Linked DNA regions of Homo sapiens: regions 1 and 2 are each linked to region 3. The links are contacts of gene promoters, found by promoter capture Hi-C in blood cells and fetal thymus (Javierre and others, 2016). All regions are on one chromosome and are shown on one strand. The core of a region is centred on a gene start or on the middle of the fragment in contact, and the rest is flanking DNA. Distances in the headings are between cores, read along the strand shown. Region 1 overlaps HIF1AN (hypoxia inducible factor 1 subunit alpha inhibitor). Region 2 overlaps ABCC2 (ATP binding cassette subfamily C member 2). Region 3 holds the start of CWF19L1 (CWF19 like cell cycle control factor 1).

Evidence for each region. Contacts are between HindIII fragments. The CHiCAGO score rates a contact against its expected background, and 5 or more counts as called.
Region 1: a contact is called between a fragment that was not itself captured here and the fragment with the promoter of CWF19L1 in region 3, in 5 of 17 cell types (naive CD8 T cells, total CD8 T cells, naive CD4 T cells and 2 more). The highest score is 8.8, in naive CD8 T cells.
Region 2: a fragment that was not itself captured here is called in contact with the fragment with the promoter of CWF19L1 in region 3 in 1 of 17 cell types (fetal thymus); the score reaches 5.2 in fetal thymus.

What each region holds. Positions count from the first base shown.
Region 1 is chr10:100,539,464-100,542,165 of GRCh38, reverse strand. HIF1AN (hypoxia inducible factor 1 subunit alpha inhibitor) reads right to left here. Exons shown (of 8, transcript NM_017902.3): 3 at 1,384-1,532. Among named protein-coding and RNA genes, the nearest start is that of HIF1AN, 4.9 kb to the right of the region's middle. The HindIII fragment of the contact is 8,099 bases long and covers 1-2,702 here.
Region 2 is chr10:99,846,164-99,848,863 of GRCh38, reverse strand. ABCC2 (ATP binding cassette subfamily C member 2) reads right to left here. Exons shown (of 32, transcript NM_000392.5): 30 at 1,737-1,903. Among named protein-coding and RNA genes, the nearest start is that of ABCC2, 65 kb to the right of the region's middle. The HindIII fragment of the contact is 2,601 bases long and covers 141-2,700 here.
Region 3 is chr10:100,266,344-100,269,043 of GRCh38, reverse strand. CWF19L1 (CWF19 like cell cycle control factor 1) reads left to right here and starts at 1,406. Exons shown (of 14, transcript NM_018294.6): 1 at 1,406-1,473. The coding sequence starts at 1,451. The HindIII fragment of the contact is 22,053 bases long and covers 1-2,700 here.

The DNA of each region.
Region 1 (2,702 bases), core at 194-2,693, 270 kb before region 3:
ATACAGGTATACCGTTTTTTATCTTTTTTTTTTTTGGCAATAAAAAAATTCCCAAACTACCATTTTTTAACCTTTATATACTTTTTTCTTTTGTCACCTTTTTCCTGCAGTATCTGATACCGTACTTTTACTATACCTTTTCTATATTTAGGTATGTTTAGATACACAAATACTTACCATTGTGTTAGAATTGACTATAATATTCAGCACAGTAATATGCTAACACCATGTAGTACATGGTTTAGTCAGAGGCTACACCATATAGCCTAGGCATATAGAAGGCTACACAATCTAGGTTTGTGTAACTATACTCTATGGTGTTTGCACAATGATGAAGTCACCTAACAACACATTTCTCAGAACGTATCCCTGACATTAAGCATCACATGTCTGTATTTCAGAGAGGTCCCTAATATCTCAGTATACACACTCACATAACAGCTGAGGAAGGGAAAAGGGAACTTTTTAGAATACACGAAACTAGCTTAAAGACTCGACATAAGCCGGGTATGGTGGCACACGCCTGTAGTGTCAGCTACTTGGGAGCTAAAGCAGGAGAATCACTTGAACACGGGAGGCGGAGGTTGCAGTGAGCCGAGACCACACAACTGCACTCCAGCCTAGGCAACAGAGTGAGACTCTGTCTCAAAAAAACAAAACAACAACAACAAAAAAAAACAGACTCGACATACATTATTTCATTTAATCTTCACAACTTCACAACTATTTACAAGACATTATCATGTTTCATTTCTTTTCATTTTTCCTTTTTTAAGCAATAGGATCTCACTCTGTTGCCCAGGCTGCAGTGCAGTGGTGCAATCATAGTTCACTGTAGCCTCAAACTTCTGGCTTCAAGCAATCCTCCTGCCTTGGCCTCCCAAAGTGCTGGGATTACAAATATGAGCTACCATGCCTGGCCCTATTATGTTTCTTTTTCTTTCTTTTGAGACAGAGTCTTGCTCTGTCGCCAGGCTGGAGTGCAGTGGCGTGATCTTGGCTCACTGCAACCTCCACCGCCTGGGTTCAAGCAATTCCCCTCTCTCAGCCTCCCGAGTAGCTGGGACTACAGGCACGCACCACCATGCCCAGCTGATTTGTTTTCTTTGTATTTTAGTAGAGACGGGGTTTCATGATGTTGGCCGGGATGGTCTCCATCTCCTGACCTCATCATCCACCCACCTTGGCCTCCCAAACTGCTGGGATTACAGGCGTGAGCCACGGCATCCAGCCCCTATTATGTTTCTTTTAGAGCTGAGTAGGCTGAGGCTTAAGAAAGTGAAGTGGCTTGTTCAAAGTCATGGAGCTAATAAGCGGTGAAGACAGGATTAGAAATCAGGTTCATATGACTCCAAGCCATGCTGCTTTTGAAAGATTTCTTACCTTCCATGCCAATGAGCAGCAGGTTAGAGGTAAGCTGCCCCCAGCCACGCTTTCCCTGTTGCTTATTAATCCAGTTCCAGTTAAAACCTAAGAAGTCCATGACAATCTTCCTGCCCACAGTGTCATTGAGCGTTTGCTGCAGATACAACCTATGTTCCCCAAGAAGAAAATCCTATTAGTGCATGCACACACAGCCCCTGGCATGGCCTCTCCACATCTGAAAATCCAAGCCCAAATCCATACCAGCATCTCCCACAGAGAACAGATGTAGTCAGGCAAATTTTAGCCAACATGGATTCTCATACAACTGAATTCTTACTTATCCTTCATTGAGTTATGTTCAACACCAAATTTTTTAATTTACTGGTTTTTCTTTGTTTTGTTTAAAGAAACAAGGTCTCAATATGTTGTCCAGGTTGGTCTTAAACTCTTGGGCTCAAGCAATCCTCCTGCTTCTGCCTCCCAAAGTGCTGGGATTACAGGTGTGAGACACTGCATCTGGCCCCCAAACTTTTTCTTTAAAGAAGTGATGCTTAACCTTTTTTGGGTCACAGAATGACTCCTTTAAGAATCCAAAGAGTAGGAGGGTGAGATGAAAAATAAAATTAAAAAAAAAAAAAAGAACCTGGAGAAGAAGTCCCAGCTACTCAGGAGGCTGAGGCAGGAGAATCACTTGAACCTGGGAGGCAGAGGTTGCAGTGAGCTGAGATCGTGCCATTGCACTCCAGCCTGGGTGACAAGAGCAAGACACCATCTCAAAAAATATAAATACATAAATAAATAAATAAAAGAATCCACGGAGGTTCCCCATAAAAATGCACATACACCCAGAACTTTCACACAATTTCAGACTCCTAGAAGCCTATCCACAGACCCTAGAATGATGAATCAGTCTCACTCCAGAGACTCGCAGAGCCTGAGACATCTCCGTTGGCCCTTGATGACCACTGTGGTAAATTGTATTACTGTTCACCAAGAGCTGGTTCCCTCAGTGTGCGAGTTTTCTTTCACATCCCCTTGAAGCCAGGCTTGCTTATTTACGCTGCTCTGGCCAAGGAAATGTCCACAGAAGCGACTTGTGTTGTTTCCAACTGTAATTTAAGAACAAGTTACCACTACCACATCTCTTTCCTTCTGCCACAGCAACTCCAAAGTTCTAGATAGTAGCTGCTGGGGCAATCTGGGTGCCAGAGCAAGTAAGATGATGTAAAGAACAATATGACATTACCCATGATCAACATGTAGTAAGTGAGAAATAAGCCTCTGTTGTTTCTAGCCCGAGCTCTGGCTTGAAGCCTAGTTTATCTTAACTGATTCAG
Region 2 (2,700 bases), core at 192-2,691, 420 kb after region 3:
TGCTAGATCTGTTGTGGAGGGAAAGTAAACTGACGATGTTCTCTACCAGGGCTTGTTCCCTGGGGCTACACACTAAAATCACCTGGGTCCCCGATTCAGTTGGTCTGGGCTACAGTTTAGGCGTTGGGAGCTTTAAAGCTTCCTGGGTGATTTTAGCTTGCAGCCTAGTTAATCACAACACTCTAGGCAGTGCTTCTCAAGTGTAATGTGCACACAAATCACCTGGGAATCTTGCTAAAGTGCGGATTCTGATGAGTAGGTCTACGCCCTGAGATTCTGCACATGTAACAAGCTCCCAGGTGAAGCCAGAGTGGCTGGCCCCTGAATCAGTTACTGAGCCCTCCCTTCCTTCCTGAGCTTCAACTTGCCAACGGCCTATTCCCTGCCTACCACCACTGAGGCCCCTGGGGCAGGAGCAAGACCTGTCCATGAGCAGTGGGCTTTGGCTGAGGGCAGAACTTCAGTGTGTGGAAGGAAAAACAAAAATGTTACAGGAAAAATGCCAGATCAACTTATTAATGGACAGGCAAACATACACTGAAGGCCAGAAGTGAACTGTCAATTATATAAAAATGTTTTGGAAAGGTTAAAAATAACTGTGAAAGCCAAGAGAGTCTTTTGTTGATTTCAGGTGTTTCAACAGTGCCTACGGATTTTACAGATGTCACGTTCCCTGTCATCCGCATGCTCTTTAGATCAGTGGTTCTTTAACTGCGATGCCCTTAACAGCCTCGTGGGGATCCTTTAAAACTCCCTATGTCCAGTCTAGCCTCAAACAATTAAATCAGACTCTAGGATTGGACCAGGCAGCCAGACTATTTTCATCCTGATTGTGCACAGCTGGGAGCCTCTGCTTTCTGTGGGATGTGTAAGCTCACATTGTGTAATGTCATATGAGGAGTACACTTAATAACAAAGGTTTTTTGTTTGTTTGTTTGTTTGTTTTGAGATGGAGTCTTGCTCTGTCTCCCAGGCTGGAGTGCAGTGGTGTGATCTCAGCTCACTACAACCTCCGCCTCCCGGGTTCAAGCAATTCTCTGCCTCAGCCTCCTGAGTAGCTGAGATTACAGGCGCCTGCCACCACACCCAGTTAATTTTTTGTATTTTTAGTGAGACGGGGTTTCACCATCTTGGCCAGGCTGGTCTTGAACTCCTGACCTCGTGATCCACCGGCCTCAGCCTCCCAAAGTGCTGGGATTACAGGCGTGAGCCACTGCACCCGGCCAATAACAAAGGTTTTCAAGAGTTGATTTTTTTTTTTTAGACGGAGTCTTGCTCTGTTGCCCAGGCTGGAGTGCAGTGGTGCAATCTCGGCTCACTGCAACCTCCACCTCCTGGGTTTAAGCGATTCTCCTGCCTCAGCCTCCTGAGTAGCTTGGGACTACAGGTGCCCACAACCATGCTAGGCTACTTTTTGTATTTTTAGTAGAGACAGGGTTTCACCATGTTGACCAGGCTGGTCACGAACTCCTGACCTCAGGTGATCTACCTGCCTCAGCCTCCCAGAGTGCTGGGATCACAGGCGTGAGCCACTGTGCTCGACCAGTTTTCAAGAGTTTTAAAGCACTTTCACATCTATTTTATCTTGTGAACTTTACAACAGGTTCATTTTACACTTTAGGAATCAGACCTGGATGAAAATTCTATGCCAGGCATCACCTAACACGAGGAACACGAGGAGTGGCCCCCTCACATCCTCTCATTGCCTGCAGGGGTAGCAGGCTATGGAACATTACCTCAGGTTGCCACCAGCCTCTGTCACTTCGTGGGATAACCCAAGTTGCAGGCTGGCCACAAAAGACTTGAGGTGAGCCAGCTCCAAGGCCTTCCAAATCTCCTCATCTGAGTAGTTGTTGAAAGGGTCGAGATTCATCCTCAGGCTTCCAGAGAACAGGATGGGGTCCTGCAAGTGAAAGGACAAGGGGGCTGTTGGGGCTCATGCCAGAAAAGGACCTCGGAGTTCCTCAGGACTGGGAGATGGTGGATAGGACTGGCCTGAGATGGATTCCTGAGGCAGGAAGCTGGTTTGTGGTTGAGCTTCCGCAAGGTTTTCCCTCCTAAGGCTCGGAGTGGCTACCAGCCAGGGGCTAGGCACAGGGTTAGAAGTCCTCGGTTTATTTTTTGTTTTTGAGGCTTTCACTCTGTTGCCCAGACTGGAGTGCAGTGGCACAAACACCGCTCACTGCAGCCTTGACATCCTTAGCTCAAGTGATGCTTCCACCTCAGCCTCCCGAGTAGCTGGGACCAGAGGCACGCACCACGATGCCTGGCTGATTTTTTAAATTTTTTGTAGAGATGGGTTCTTGCCATGTTGCCTAGGCTGATCTTGAACTCCTGGGCTCCAGTGATTCACCTGCCTCGGCCTCCCAAACCCATAATCGTGATTTCAAGGTAGAGGGATCAGAGGAGGGTAGAGGAAAGAATAGTACAGCTGCATGAGAAGAAGGTGTCACGCTTTTGAAGAGGCTGGAGAAAAGACTATCGAACTGAGCAAACACCAGACAGACCAAAACTACCCCCAGAGGAACTGGGCTGCAGTGGGCGGAGGAGGAAAGGTTCTCCTGAGGAGCCGCTGCGGGGAACGGAGAGGCCTCGCGGCAGTCCTTATCTGGCAGGATCCAGAGAGGAAGCCGAAGGGAAATCTTTCTTGCTGATGCACGAAGCGTTCCGCTTGCTGGCAGAAACCTGCAGCAAATTCCC
Region 3 (2,700 bases), core at 157-2,656:
GTCAGGAACTCTCTCTTGTTTCCATTTCCTTACACACTTGTTTCCTACCACTTGGCCTGAACCCTTCAAAAAAGTCAATATTACAAAAACTAAAACCAAATAGGTAGGAGGGCTTTTGTAGATTAAAATAGAGACAGAACCAAATGCAAGTGTGAAACTTGATTGCATCTGAATCAAAACAAGCCCCAAATATAAAATCAGTTTGTAGGGAAATATGGAGAACTTTAAATATGGATGTATATTAGGTAATATTATTGAATAATTAATGTTAATTTTCTTAGCTGTGTTAATAGTATTACGGTTATGTAGGAGGATATCCTAATCTTAGGAGATAAATGGAGATGTATTCCTGTTGTCCGCACTTTATTTTATTTTATTTTTTGACACGGAGTCTCGCTCTGTCGCCCAGGCTGGAGTGAAGTGGCGCGATCTCGGCTCACTGCAACTTCCTCCTCCTGGGTTCAAGCGATTCCCCTGCCTCAGCCTCCCGAGTAACTGGGACTGCAGGTGCGTGCCACCACGCCCGGCTAATTTTTTGTATTTTTAGTAGAGAGGGGGTTTCACCGTGTTAGCCAGGATGGTCTGGATCTCCCAAAGTGCTGGGATTACAGGCGTGAGCCACTGCGCCCGGCCTGTACTTTACTTTCAAATGATTGAGTGAGAATGGAAGGGCTTGGGCACTTTGAGAGAAAGAGAACACAAGCAAATTTGCCAACATGCTGAGACTTACTGAATCAAGGTAATAGCCATTATTCTTTTAACTTTTTTTTTTTTAATTTGAGACGGAGTTTCGCTCTTGTTGTCCAGGCTGGAGTGCAATGGCGCGATCTTGACTCACTGCAACCCCCGCCTCCCTGGTTGAAGCAATTCTCCACCATGCCCGGCTAATTTTTGTATTTTTAGAAGAGACGGGGTTTCACCATGTTGCCCAGGCTGGTCTTGAACGCCCGACCTCAAGTGATCCGCCCGCCTCAGCCTTCCAAAGTGCTGGGATTATAGGCGTGAGCGTCCACGCCCGGCCTCTTAACTTTTTGATAGGTTAAAAACTTACAAAAAACGTGGATAGAGGGGGTCTGTCTTGCCCACTAGACCGATATGGTTAGGTTAGGTTAGGTTAGGTTAGGTTAGGTTAGAACCCGACATTGTGCTCTGTACTTCCTAGCCATTCATTCGCTTCAAGTGCTCTGAAATTTAATTTAAAAAATCATAGTTGGAATCCTTTCGGTCACTTTCTCTTTCTCCCTTCGTTCCTCCCTTTCCCTCTTGATTCTTCCTTGAGGCGCAAACACCTGAGAGAGGCTTCTGTCCCTCGGCGGTCTCCGTAAGTAAGTGAACCGTTATTGGCTGGAGGGCGCTGACGTCTGATTGTTGCGCGGTCGCATTTTTCCGGGGAGCGCGGATTCGCATTCCCAATTTTAGGTGGCAGTCGCAACCCATACTATTCGGACAGATGGCACAGAAACCGCTGCGCCTGTGAGTGACCGTGAATGGAAGCCTCTCTCCCTGTGTCTCTTTCGTGTGTGTAGGTGACGACACGGGCGGGAGTCTTTCCCATGACGGGAAGGGAGAAGGAAAAGGCGGAGAGACACGGGGCTGCTGGGGAGCTTAGGTGATGTCTTTGCCTGGCCGGGGCTGACCTCTTTTCCTGGCCCTTTTCGCTTCTGAGGGGGTTTCTCTTGGCGACGCTCGTTCGGAGAGGCGGAAGCTCCCAGAGTTAGGCCTCCTCCATCTTAGGGGGCAGTCCTGGCCTCTGACACATCCTTTCCCCTTCGTTTCTCCTGACCCCATTTATTTACTCGCCAAATAGCCATTGGGCCCACTGATGGGCCCTGGGCAGTGGTGGACAGAGTAGATAGGGACCCTTCCCTGGGGCATTTTTTTTTTTTTTTTTTTTTTGCGAGGAGGAGGGGTGGGGGTGGTGGTGAAGAGAGGGCTTCATGCAGCAAGTATTTATTGAAGAACTGCAGTGTGCCGGACGCTGTGCTAGGTGTTGCAACAGATGGAGTTCCTGCTTTAATGGAGCGTAGAGTCTAGAGGAACAGGTACTAAAGAATCCAGATAATGGGCCGGGCGCGGTGGCTGAGGCAGGAGAATCGCTTGAACCCGGGAGGCGGAGGTTGCTGTGAGCCGAGATCGCGCCACTGCACTCCAGCCTGGGCGACAGAACGAGACTCTCAAAACAAAACAAAACAAAACAAAACAAACAAAAAACAATACAAATAATGGCCGGGCGCGGTGGCTCACGCCTGTAATCCTAGCACTTTGGGAGGCTGAGGCGGGCGGATCACTTGCGGTCAGGAGTTCGAGACCAGCCTGGCCAACGTGGTGACACCCCGTCTCTACTAATACAAAAAAAAAAAATTAGCCAGGCGTGGTGGCGCGTGCCTGTAATCCCAGCTACTTGGGAGGCTGAGGCAGGAGAATCGCTTGAACCCGGAGGCGGAGGTTGCACAGTGAGCCGACACTGCACCTCTGCACTCCAGCCTAGGTAACAGAGTGAGACTCCGTCTAAAAAAAAAGGAATTCAGATAAATGTAAAGTTACCATAGTGATAGGGCCAGGCGCAGTGGCTCACGCCTATAATCCCAGCGACTCCGGAGGCCAAGGCAAGAGAATCACTTGAGTCCAGGAATTCAAGACCAGCCTGGGCAATATAGCAAGGCCCCGTTTCTACAAAAAATACAGAAAAAAAAAAAAATT